2 separate regions of the Homo sapiens genome follow, and region 1 is linked to region 2. Evidence: promoter capture Hi-C in 16 types of primary human blood cells and fetal thymus (Javierre and others, 2016). All regions are on one chromosome and are shown on one strand. Each heading gives the region's core, a stretch centred on a gene start or on the middle of the fragment in contact. The rest is flanking DNA. Distances are from core to core; before and after follow the strand shown. Region 1 overlaps PRRC2B (proline rich coiled-coil 2B). Region 2 holds the start of RAPGEF1 (Rap guanine nucleotide exchange factor 1).

Region 1 (4,681 bases), core at 2,007-4,506, 300 kb after region 2:
TGCGCACTTACCACCTTCGTGTCCTACTGGCTTTCCATTCAGCTGTGCCCATGACTTTGGTCCACCTGGCACTGAATTTGTATTCTGAAAGAAGGAAGAGAATCAGAAGAGGGCCAGCTCCCTTATTCCACTGTACAATAACAGCCTATTACAACAAGGTGCTGAGAGGCCAGCACCTTAGATTCAAACCCTATACGGATCCATCCACCACCACTTTCTGAGCAGCAGCAAAGCCCTGAACCTTCCCTGTAACGCACACTCCACACAGCGGTCCCAGGGACGAGAAAATGCCAGGCCCACTCTACAGACAAGGAGCAGGATTTGGGGAGTGACCAGCTTCAAGTCACACAGACAGTGACACAGCAAAGCCAGGACCCAAACCTGTTTCTCTCCATTCGGTGCTCTGGAACCTCCCGTGTCCACAGAGAGCTACTTTATTTTGCTCCAGCGACAAAGACTAAGGCCCAGTTCCGGCATGTGTCTTTAAAACTGCGCAGCTGCTAATGAGGAACGTGAACAAAGAAGGCCAACATGCCAGATCTTGATCTGGGTGGGCTGGCTGCAGCACTTTCTGTAGTGACCGTGACTCTACAAGGCACAGCTCCCCTCCTGAGAACCCTAGGAGGTCACCTCTGCTGAAAACTCGCCAGGGTCAGCATTATGCGAAGCACACCCAGCCTGACTGAATGCTCACCACCCCCTGAGAAGGCTCTAGTCACATCCCCCACTGAGGCTCAGAGAAGAGTGACTGAGTCAGATGCAGAACAGCAGGACCAGGACCAGTCTCCAGCCTGCCTATGTCCAGTGCCCTTTCGAGTCTCTAACCACTAAGCTCACCCGTCTTTTCCACTCAACTAACATTCATCTCACAGCCTTCCTCTTCTAACTGAAGGTGAAAATACACAAAACAAAGCTGCTGCTTTGTGAAACTTCCCCACTTACTGGTAGATGTTCTAAAACTCGCACAACACTGGGCACTTCTTCTTACCTGCCCCTCACATATGAGAGAAAACCAGGTAGCAGCAAAGAAGCACTGAGCACTGGATAAGGTGACCCCTGTGCCAGTGCCAGGATGGGTTCCCCTTCCTTGGCATAGTGCTCCCCTTCAGCAATTCATTCAAATAGATGCCCAGGACCTCACCCACAGGCCCCAGTGGTGGGGTCTGAGCACATACATCTTGAACAGGCTTCAGAGGCAAATCTGATCTCTCAGCTCTATCACCTCACTCCTTTTCTTTCAAATTCTGGGAAGCAGAAAGGAACTCAACTCTAAATACTCTGACTAGCCTATGGGTCCCAGTGGATTTAGGCCAAGGAAAAGGGCATCTTGCATGATTATAGACCTCTTTTCTTGTCTTTAATTTTAAAAGCACGGTTCAGTGTTAGGTGGGGAGAGGGTGCCCTGGCAAAGCCACAGACTTCCCTGAGTATGGTTAAAGCAGAGAGGGGATGACATTTGAGACCTTATATTGCCCATGCAGCAAAGCAAAACCAAAATATGTTCATTCCCGCTGTCAAGAGAGCTGGTGAATATGAGATATCTACGTCTACTTTTAGTCTTCTAAAAAATTCATAGACTTCTCATCTAGATTTCTAGTTCTGGCTAAGTATATCCTCCTGCCAATCTCTGGAAACCTGTAGCCAGGCTCTGATGGACTGAGTGTGTTATGAGCTCTTGCTTGGTGAAATCATTACTTTCTGCTTAGAAAAACACTTAAAACATATCAACAAATGAAGGATTGTAGCTTCGTATTTCCCAAAGCGTGTTCTGAGAGACATTAGTCCCTAGAGACATTCGGTAAAGAAATGTTTCCTGGGACAAATAAATTCAGGGACTGCTGCCCATTATATCCTCTTCTCAGAGAGTCACATTAGGTATTAGCATATGAAAGGCACTGAGAAGTACCGCAGTAAAGGAGCTCGCTTCGTTTTGTTTTTCAAACTCACCTGGCCAGTGAACCTTTTTGTGACCTGCCACTTTTTGTCTTCCTGTGACCCAAGCTTCCATGGAGCTCACGTGACGCTTCCATGGAGCTTCACCCTGAACTAGTCTGCAGTCCAGCCTGAGTGACCCTGCCTCACGGTAAATCAAGAGGAACCAAAGTAGGTGCCTGTATCCTAGTCTGTATCTGAGGTCTTTTTCTAAAAGCTGCAGATTAAATTTCTTAACCACTGACCTTGACGGTTTCCCATGACGGTTTTCTAAAGTCACTCATCGGGTGTGCCTCTGGAATAGACAGGTCATGCACAACCACACTTCTCAGTAGCAACTCCTTCCATCCCCCAGCAACAAAGAGATTTAGGGGCTACCATGCCCAGGAAACAGTTGGGATGGGGTCCCAGCACCTACCTCCTGACTGATTGACTGTGTCGGTTTCTGCAAATTGGAGACAGATTTCTGCAAACCCGGCTGCGGCAGCGACTCCGGCGGCTGAGAGGCCGTCGCACTGGAACTAGACAAAGGCAGGGCAGTGGGGTCAGGCACCGCACAGAGTGCGCTGGCCAGGTCTCTGCGTTCTCAGGAGCCACAGCTGTTCAGCTGCTCACAGGAAGCAGACCTCCTCTGGCCAATAAAAATACGACTTTCCCCAGTAGATTCTTATGCTGGCAAAAACTAATAAGAAAACAAACCATGCTTAAGTTCTAGTCACTGACATTTAAAATTAGCACAAGACAGTCCTCTGACTTTTTCTTTTTCTTTTTTTTGAGACAGGGGGTCTCACTCTATCACCCAGGCTGGAGTGTAGTGGGGTAAACTTGGCTCAATGCAACCTCTGCTTCCCGGCCTCAAGCAATCCTCTCATCTCGGCCTTCTGAGTAGGTGGGACTACAGGCTTGAGCCACCTTGCCTGGCCTTTCTTTTTTAAAAATGAAACTTTTCTGCCTTCTTGTAGAGCCTTCTGTCTGCAAAAACTAAAAGCTCACTGTAAACAATGCAAATGAAGGATTTGCCAATAGGGAAATTCAATCACTGGAATGAAGGGCTTGTGCCCCTTACCCCAGACCCAGAGCCCATACCTACTCAGAGGGCTGACTTTTTAACCTTCTCTGAGTTTATAAAAGAAATACATGCTCATAGTAAAAATAAACTTATAAATAAAACTAGGTAACACAGAACATCATGATCTCATCATCCAGAGAGAAACTCCAAGCAGACTTTTCTATACCTGTTAATACAGTTTTGTTTTTAACCAGCAGAGTTTTACACTGCAGGAATACAGTATTTTTCTAACAGAAGTGGAGTGACCCCATACATAAAGCTCTATGACTTTTTTACTTCATGCATCTGAACATCTTTTCATCAACATAGAAACGGATCTTCCTTTTGCTTTTAATGAGCACACAACACAACTAGACAGGTCATAATTTAACCAGTCTCTCATATGGGTTTTTCTTCCCCCTTACAGATACAACTGCAATAAGAATTTTTTGGCTTTTTTTTTTTTTTTTTTTTTTTTTAGATGGAGTCTCATTCTGCCGCCCAGGTTGCAGTGCAGTGGCATGATCTCAGCTCACTGCAACCTCTTTCTCCCAGGTTCAAGCGATTCTCCTGCCTCAGTCTCCCGAATATCTGGGATTACAGTTATGCAGCACCACGCCTGGCTAATTTTTGTATTTTTAGCAGAGACGGGGTTTCAACATGTTGGCCAGGCCAGTCTTGAACTCCTGACCTCATGTGATCTGCTCAGTTCAGCCTCCCAAAGTGCTGGGATTACAGGTGTGAGCCACTGCGCCCGACCTACAATAAGAACTTTTTTTTCTTTTCTTTTTTTTCGAGATGGAATCTCGCTCTGTCACTCTGGCTAAAGTGCAGTGGCATGATCTCGGCTCACTGCAACCTCTGCCTCCCGGGTTCAAGCAATTCTCCTGCCTCATCCTCCCAAGTAGCTGGGATTACAGGCGTGCACGACCACGCCCAGCTAATTTTTGTATTTTTAGTAGAGATCGGGTTTCGCCATGTTGGTCAGGCTGGTCTTGAACTCCTGACCTCAGGTGATCCACCCTCCTCGGCCTCCCAAAGTGCTGGGATTACAGATGTCAGCCACTGCACCCGGCCAAGAATTTTTTTTAATACATATCTTTGCACCATTTTTCTGTAAGTAATTCCATAGCATACGACCTTAGAAATGGAAATGCTGGATCAAAAGATATTTTGAAGTTTAAATGATTGCCAGGCTGCCCTCCAAAAAAAGGCTGTGTCAGTGAATTTACACTCCACAGGTGAAGTGATGAAATCAACAAGAAATGGCCGAATGAAGGTTTCTGCTCTAACTCAGCGCTCCGGTCACAGTAGGCAACTTTTCACTCAACGAGATTCAAGGAGGGCAGCCACCCCCCTGGTGGGAACTCCTCCAATACAAGTGGCTTATCTGTAAATGGAAGCCAAACTCTATACAGACACCCTCTTCCAAGATTCACCTGACCCAGGCAACTCACCATTCGTGATTATTACAAACAGAAGGCTACTGATCGGGTTCTTACATCTCCTTCTACCTAAAAGAGAAGCTTCCAAGTAGTCGCACTTTTGTGTTCTCCAAAACTAAGCACTGAGTCCCCACGTTGTGGGCCCACTTGCCACCTGATACCTTGGTGGGAGGATGTGGCCTGGGGCAGCAGAGAACTACACGGGGGTCTATGCCCTCACCAACACTCCATCCTCACCTCTTCCCTGGCGGACGTG
Region 2 (4,775 bases), core at 1,489-3,988:
AGGCATCTGCCAAGAGGGCTGAACAGGGCCACCCTGGATCAGAGCATCCATTCATCAGGTGGAAGAGGGAAATGAATTTGTCAATCTTTGGATTTGCCTTTGACCTCTAGAGGGCTGCAACTGATGAAATGATGATGGGAAATTTGGCTGCCATCTATGACCATCTCCTTTTTTTTTTTTTTAAAGAGGGAGTCTCGCTCTGTCACCCAGGCTGGAGTGCAGTGGCGCGATCTTGGCTCCCTGCAACCTCTGCCTCCCAGGTTCAAGTGATTCTCGTGCCTCAGCCTCCTGAGTAGCTGGGACTACCAGCGCGCACCACCACGCCCGGCTATTTTTTGTATTTTTAGTAGAGATGGGGTTTCACCATGTTGGCCAGGCTGGTCTCGAACTCCTGAACTCAGGTGATCTACCCACCTCGGCCTCCCAAAGTGCTGGGATTACAGGTGTGAGCCACCACACCCGGCCTGACTAGCTCTTAGTTGTGGAATCGGTGACCCTTTAGACTGTCCAGGGAGATGGGAATAAGAATCTCTCACAACATTAGCAGTTTTTCCTCCTCCCTGCACCTCCCCCAAATCCTGTCCCCATCACTAGGTTATTTAATTTACTTATTTTGGGGGAAACAGGAGGGAAAACTAGCCCAGGTGGTGCGTGCTACTTCTTTGTATTCCATCTTAGACTAACAACAGGAAGCAGGCAGCAGAATTGCCCCACATTGGAACATCACTTGCGTTACTAATTTGTTGTTATTTACTACTTGTATTATAGGATTTAACTTTGACTTCCCAGCTAAGTTGTGAACTCTTTGGAGGGAAGCACCAATTGTGCCCACTTTTGTAGGGCCCACAGAACCCGAAATAGTGCTTAGACTTAGCAGATCCTTTGATTCTTAAATGACTTTTTTTTTCCTTTTTTTTTTTTTTTTTTTTAGCCAGGGTCTTCCTCTGTCACTCAGGCTGGAGTGCAGTGGTGCAATCATGACTCCCTGAAACCTCTGCCTCCAGGGCTCAAGTGATTCTCCCTCATCAGCCTCTCAAGTAACTGGGACTACAGGCAGGTGCCGCCGTGCCTGGCTAATTTTTGTATTTTTAGTAGAGACGGAGTTTCACACATTGCCCAGGCTGGTCTCGAACCCCTGGGCTCAAGTCATCCACCCACCTCAGCCTCCCAAAGTGCTGTGATTGCAGCCGTGAGCCACTGTGCCCAACCACGACTTTTTTTTTTTTTTTGAGACGGAGTCTCGCTCTGGAGCCACCAGGCTGGAGTACAGTGGCATGATCTCGGTTCACTGCAACCTCCATGTCCTGGGTTCAAGAGATTCTCCTGCCTCAGCCTCCCAAGTAGCTGGGACTACAGGCGTGTGCCACCATGCCCACCTAATTTTTGTATTTTTAGTAGAGATGGGGTTTCACCATGTTGGCCAGGATGGTCTCAATCTCTTGACCTCGTGATCCACCTGCCTCGGCCTCCCAAAGTGCTGGGATTACAGGCGTGAGCCACCGTGCCCAGCCACGACTTTTAATGAACTCATTTCCACACTAGAAAAGTTCCACAGCTGAGCCCCAGGGTGCCCTTCTGGATGTCAAATAAGCAGGGCAGGCAGGGTGTGCTGTGTCCCTGAGGGAGTTGGGCCCAGGCCAGCATGGAGGCTCTAGGCCTCAGGGGACATTTAGGCCTGAGTAGGGCCAACCCCAGCCCGGGACAGGTGGCTCTCGCTGGCAGGGTGACTGAGTCCCACATGCAGGGCTGGGGTGGAGAATGAATCCTCCGCCTTGGCATAGACCTTGGGCCAGCAGAGGGCTTTCATGCCAGAGTGGACTCATTCCCCGGCTGGAGCCTCTGGGCTGGCAGGAGGTGCTATGAGGCCACTCCCAGGCCCTGGTGTGGGGTCTCCAATTAAGAAGGGGGTGCGGGCAGGGTGCAGTGGTTCACACCTGTAATCCCAGCACTTTGGGAGGCCAAGGTGGGTGGATCATGAGGTCAGAAGATCGAGACCAGCCTGGCCAACATGGCGAAACCCCGTTTCTACTAAAAATACAAAAATTAGCTGGGCATGGTGGCATGTGCCTGTAATCCCAGCTACTCAGGAGGCTGAGGCAGGAGAATTGCTTGAACCCGGCAGGCAGAGGTTGCAGTGAGTCGAGATCGCGCCACTGCTCTCCAGCCTGGCGACAAAGTGAGACTCGGTCTCAAAAACAAAAAACAAAACAAAAAAGGGGGTGCTGCATCTCTGGTTTGGGGGAGGTCAGGACAGGCTCCCAGCCAGCAGAGCTTGTTGAGTCCTGGTGAGAGTGAGTTCTAGGCCCTGGTGTGGAGCCTCTGGCCCACAGGGGATGCTGGGTCCGGGATGATGCTAGGGTGGGGTGGGCGTCAGTTCCACGTCCTGGGGTGGAAAATCTGACCCAGGAGGGTTCTCTGTGTCTCTGGTGAGGGGGCAGGCCAGGCTCTTGGGCAACCGAGGACCCTGGGTTGGAGCTGTCAGTCCCAGGTCTGGAGCTGGTGACTCTGGTCCCACAGCAGAGGAATGCGGAGTCCCAGGCGGGGTCGGCCCCACACCCCAGGCCCCAGGCCCCGGCGTGGGGACTCCGGCTCGGCAGGGGGCGCTGCGTCTCGCGCGTCGCGCGGGAGGCTCGGGCGGCTCCGGGCCCACAGGGGGCGCTGTGGCGGCGCGGCGGGCGCCCGGCAGGTGGCGCTGTGGCCGTGGCCGCGGCCGAGGCCCGGCGGGCGGGCGGGCGGCGTCGCTGCGCTGCGGCCGGCTCGCGGGCCGGGGGAGCGGCGGCGGGCGCGCGGGAGGCGGAGCGGCGGCGGCGGGCGCGGCGGGAGCGGCTGGGCCCGGGCGGGCTGGAGCGCGGTCGCCGAGCGCAGGGCCGCGGCCGCGCGGAGCCCGCCATGCCGGCGCGGGTCTGAGGCGTGGCGAGCCAGGGCCGAGGCGAGCGGCGGGCGCGCCGCCCCTGTCGCCCCGCGGCGGCCCGGCCCGGGCCCGATGAGCGGCGGCCTCGGCCTCCGGCGCAGCCCGGAAATGTCCGGCAAGATCGAGAAAGCAGGTGAGGCGCGGGCGTGGGGCGGCTCCCTCCGGCCGGGCCCGGCCCTGGGGCTCCGCCGCTCCCCGGGCCGAGCGCGGGTCGCCCGGGATGTGCGGCCCTCCGTGCGCCGGGGCGGGGTGAAGCCACCGAGGCCTCGCCGGGGCGCCTGGCAGCTTCTCCTCCAGGCCCATTGCCTGCCGGGCGCGGGGGGAAGCGGCCGCTGCGGGGGCGCCAGGGGCCGGGCCGGGCGGGGCCCCTGCAACCCGGGGCCGGGCGCGCTAGCCGCTCCGCGGTCCCCGGGAACTTCCGAAAATGGCTCGAGCCCCAAGCAGGGGAAGAACAGCCCGGGCCGCGTGCTGCTGCGGCTGCAGCGATCGGTGCCCGGCCTGGGCTCGGCGCTAGGAGGGTGAACCCAGCTGAGCTGTAAAATGTGTCATTTCTAACGAGCTTCGAGTTTAACGAGAAGCGTCCACTTCGGTTGCTTCAAAGGAAGCAGGCTGGATGAGTGGGGGTATTTTGAGGAGGTAGTCAAGTTTCCCCTCCCCACCCCGATCAAGCTCAGCTCTGCAAGGAGGGCAGGTGGGGGACCGGTGGGTTGGAGTAGATGGTAAATCTTGATGCAGACCTCGTCTCTTTGTGTGTTCCTAGAAATCTGGGGGAGTTACCTTCCGAGTCCCTGGGTTTGCCTGTCCTGGAAATAGAGTCTCCAAAGATTCAATGACTGTCGAGCCTGTGGGGCCCCAGGCTTTATTAGCCTGCAGCACCTTGCAGGGCAAATGCGAATTCTTGGGTCTAAGGTGAAGTGGGCGGGTGCTCCTGGGCTCCTGTACTGGGAGCATGCCCTGTGGTCATAACCCCGGTAGCAGGTTAGCTTGGCGGCTGAATGAGGGAAAGCAGATTTTTAGGGAGCTGCAAAGGAGGTCTGTGGCTTTGATTGTGGAAGTTGCTTATGTTTCCTGGGTTGAATCTGGGATACTTCTGTGGGGTGCACCCCTGCAGCGGACCCACAAGGCAATATGACTTTTGCAGGCTGTGGTTGAAGCACAGAAGGACATTTTTGTAGGCTTTATTGAGGGTTTACTATATATCTAACTCTTAGCACCTAAAATGCATTGCTTCTTAAATTTTTGAAGCTAGTCTGTGGGAAAGAATATGGTCCCAGTTTTACAGGCTCAGAGAGGTTCAGTGAGTTCCGGCTGTCCAGACAGCAAGAGGGCGGCAGGCCCCTAGTATATTCATTCCTGGCCCTCTGACCAGAAGCCAGGGTGCTTTTCTCAGGGGCAGGGCGCTTGGGTTCAGGTGCCATTTCTTGAGTATTTTTCTCACTGAATTTGAGCCCCCACAGCCTTGCCGAGTGACCATGAGTCGCCATCCTGTACACCTGCTGCTCCAGAAATAACTTGGGTTCATCTGTGCAGCATTTCTCAGGAACTTCTTGTATAGTGTCTTGTCAGAACGGTACTGTTGGGAAACTTGGATAATTTATTTTAAAAAGAACATTCACTGAGTTCTTTTATAAGAACTTTATAATATATAAGATTATATTATATCTTTTTATATCTAATATAAGATTATATTATGTTTTATATCTTTATAATATAAGAATATTCTATGTTCATTGTCAAAACTTGGAAATCACAGAAAAGTAAAATGAACCGGATTGGAAATCATCTGTCAGCCAGGTACAGTGGCTCACGCCTGTAATCCCTGCATTTTGGAAGGCCAAGGCAGGAGGATCACTTGAGCCCAGGA

Evidence for each region. Contacts are between HindIII fragments. The CHiCAGO score rates a contact against its expected background, and 5 or more counts as called.
Region 1: a fragment that was not itself captured here is called in contact with the fragment with the promoter of RAPGEF1 in region 2 in 1 of 17 cell types (non-activated CD4 T cells); the score reaches 5.1 in non-activated CD4 T cells.

Annotation. Positions count from the first base shown.
Region 1 is chr9:131,434,392-131,439,072 of GRCh38, reverse strand. It overlaps PRRC2B (proline rich coiled-coil 2B), which reads right to left. Exons shown (of 32, transcript NM_013318.4): 4 at 2,351-2,453; 5 at 12-84. Among named protein-coding and RNA genes, the nearest start is that of PRRC2B, 43 kb to the right of the region's middle. RefSeq lists enhancers at 1,048-2,021, 2,022-2,997. The HindIII fragment of the contact is 2,505 bases long and covers 2,004-4,508 here.
Region 2 is chr9:131,738,039-131,742,813 of GRCh38, reverse strand. RAPGEF1 (Rap guanine nucleotide exchange factor 1) reads left to right here and starts at 2,738. Exons shown (of 27, transcript NM_001377935.1): 1 at 2,738-3,044. The coding sequence starts at 2,984. RefSeq lists silencers at 2,515-2,774, 2,925-2,974, 3,025-3,354. The HindIII fragment of the contact is 12,763 bases long and covers 1-4,775 here.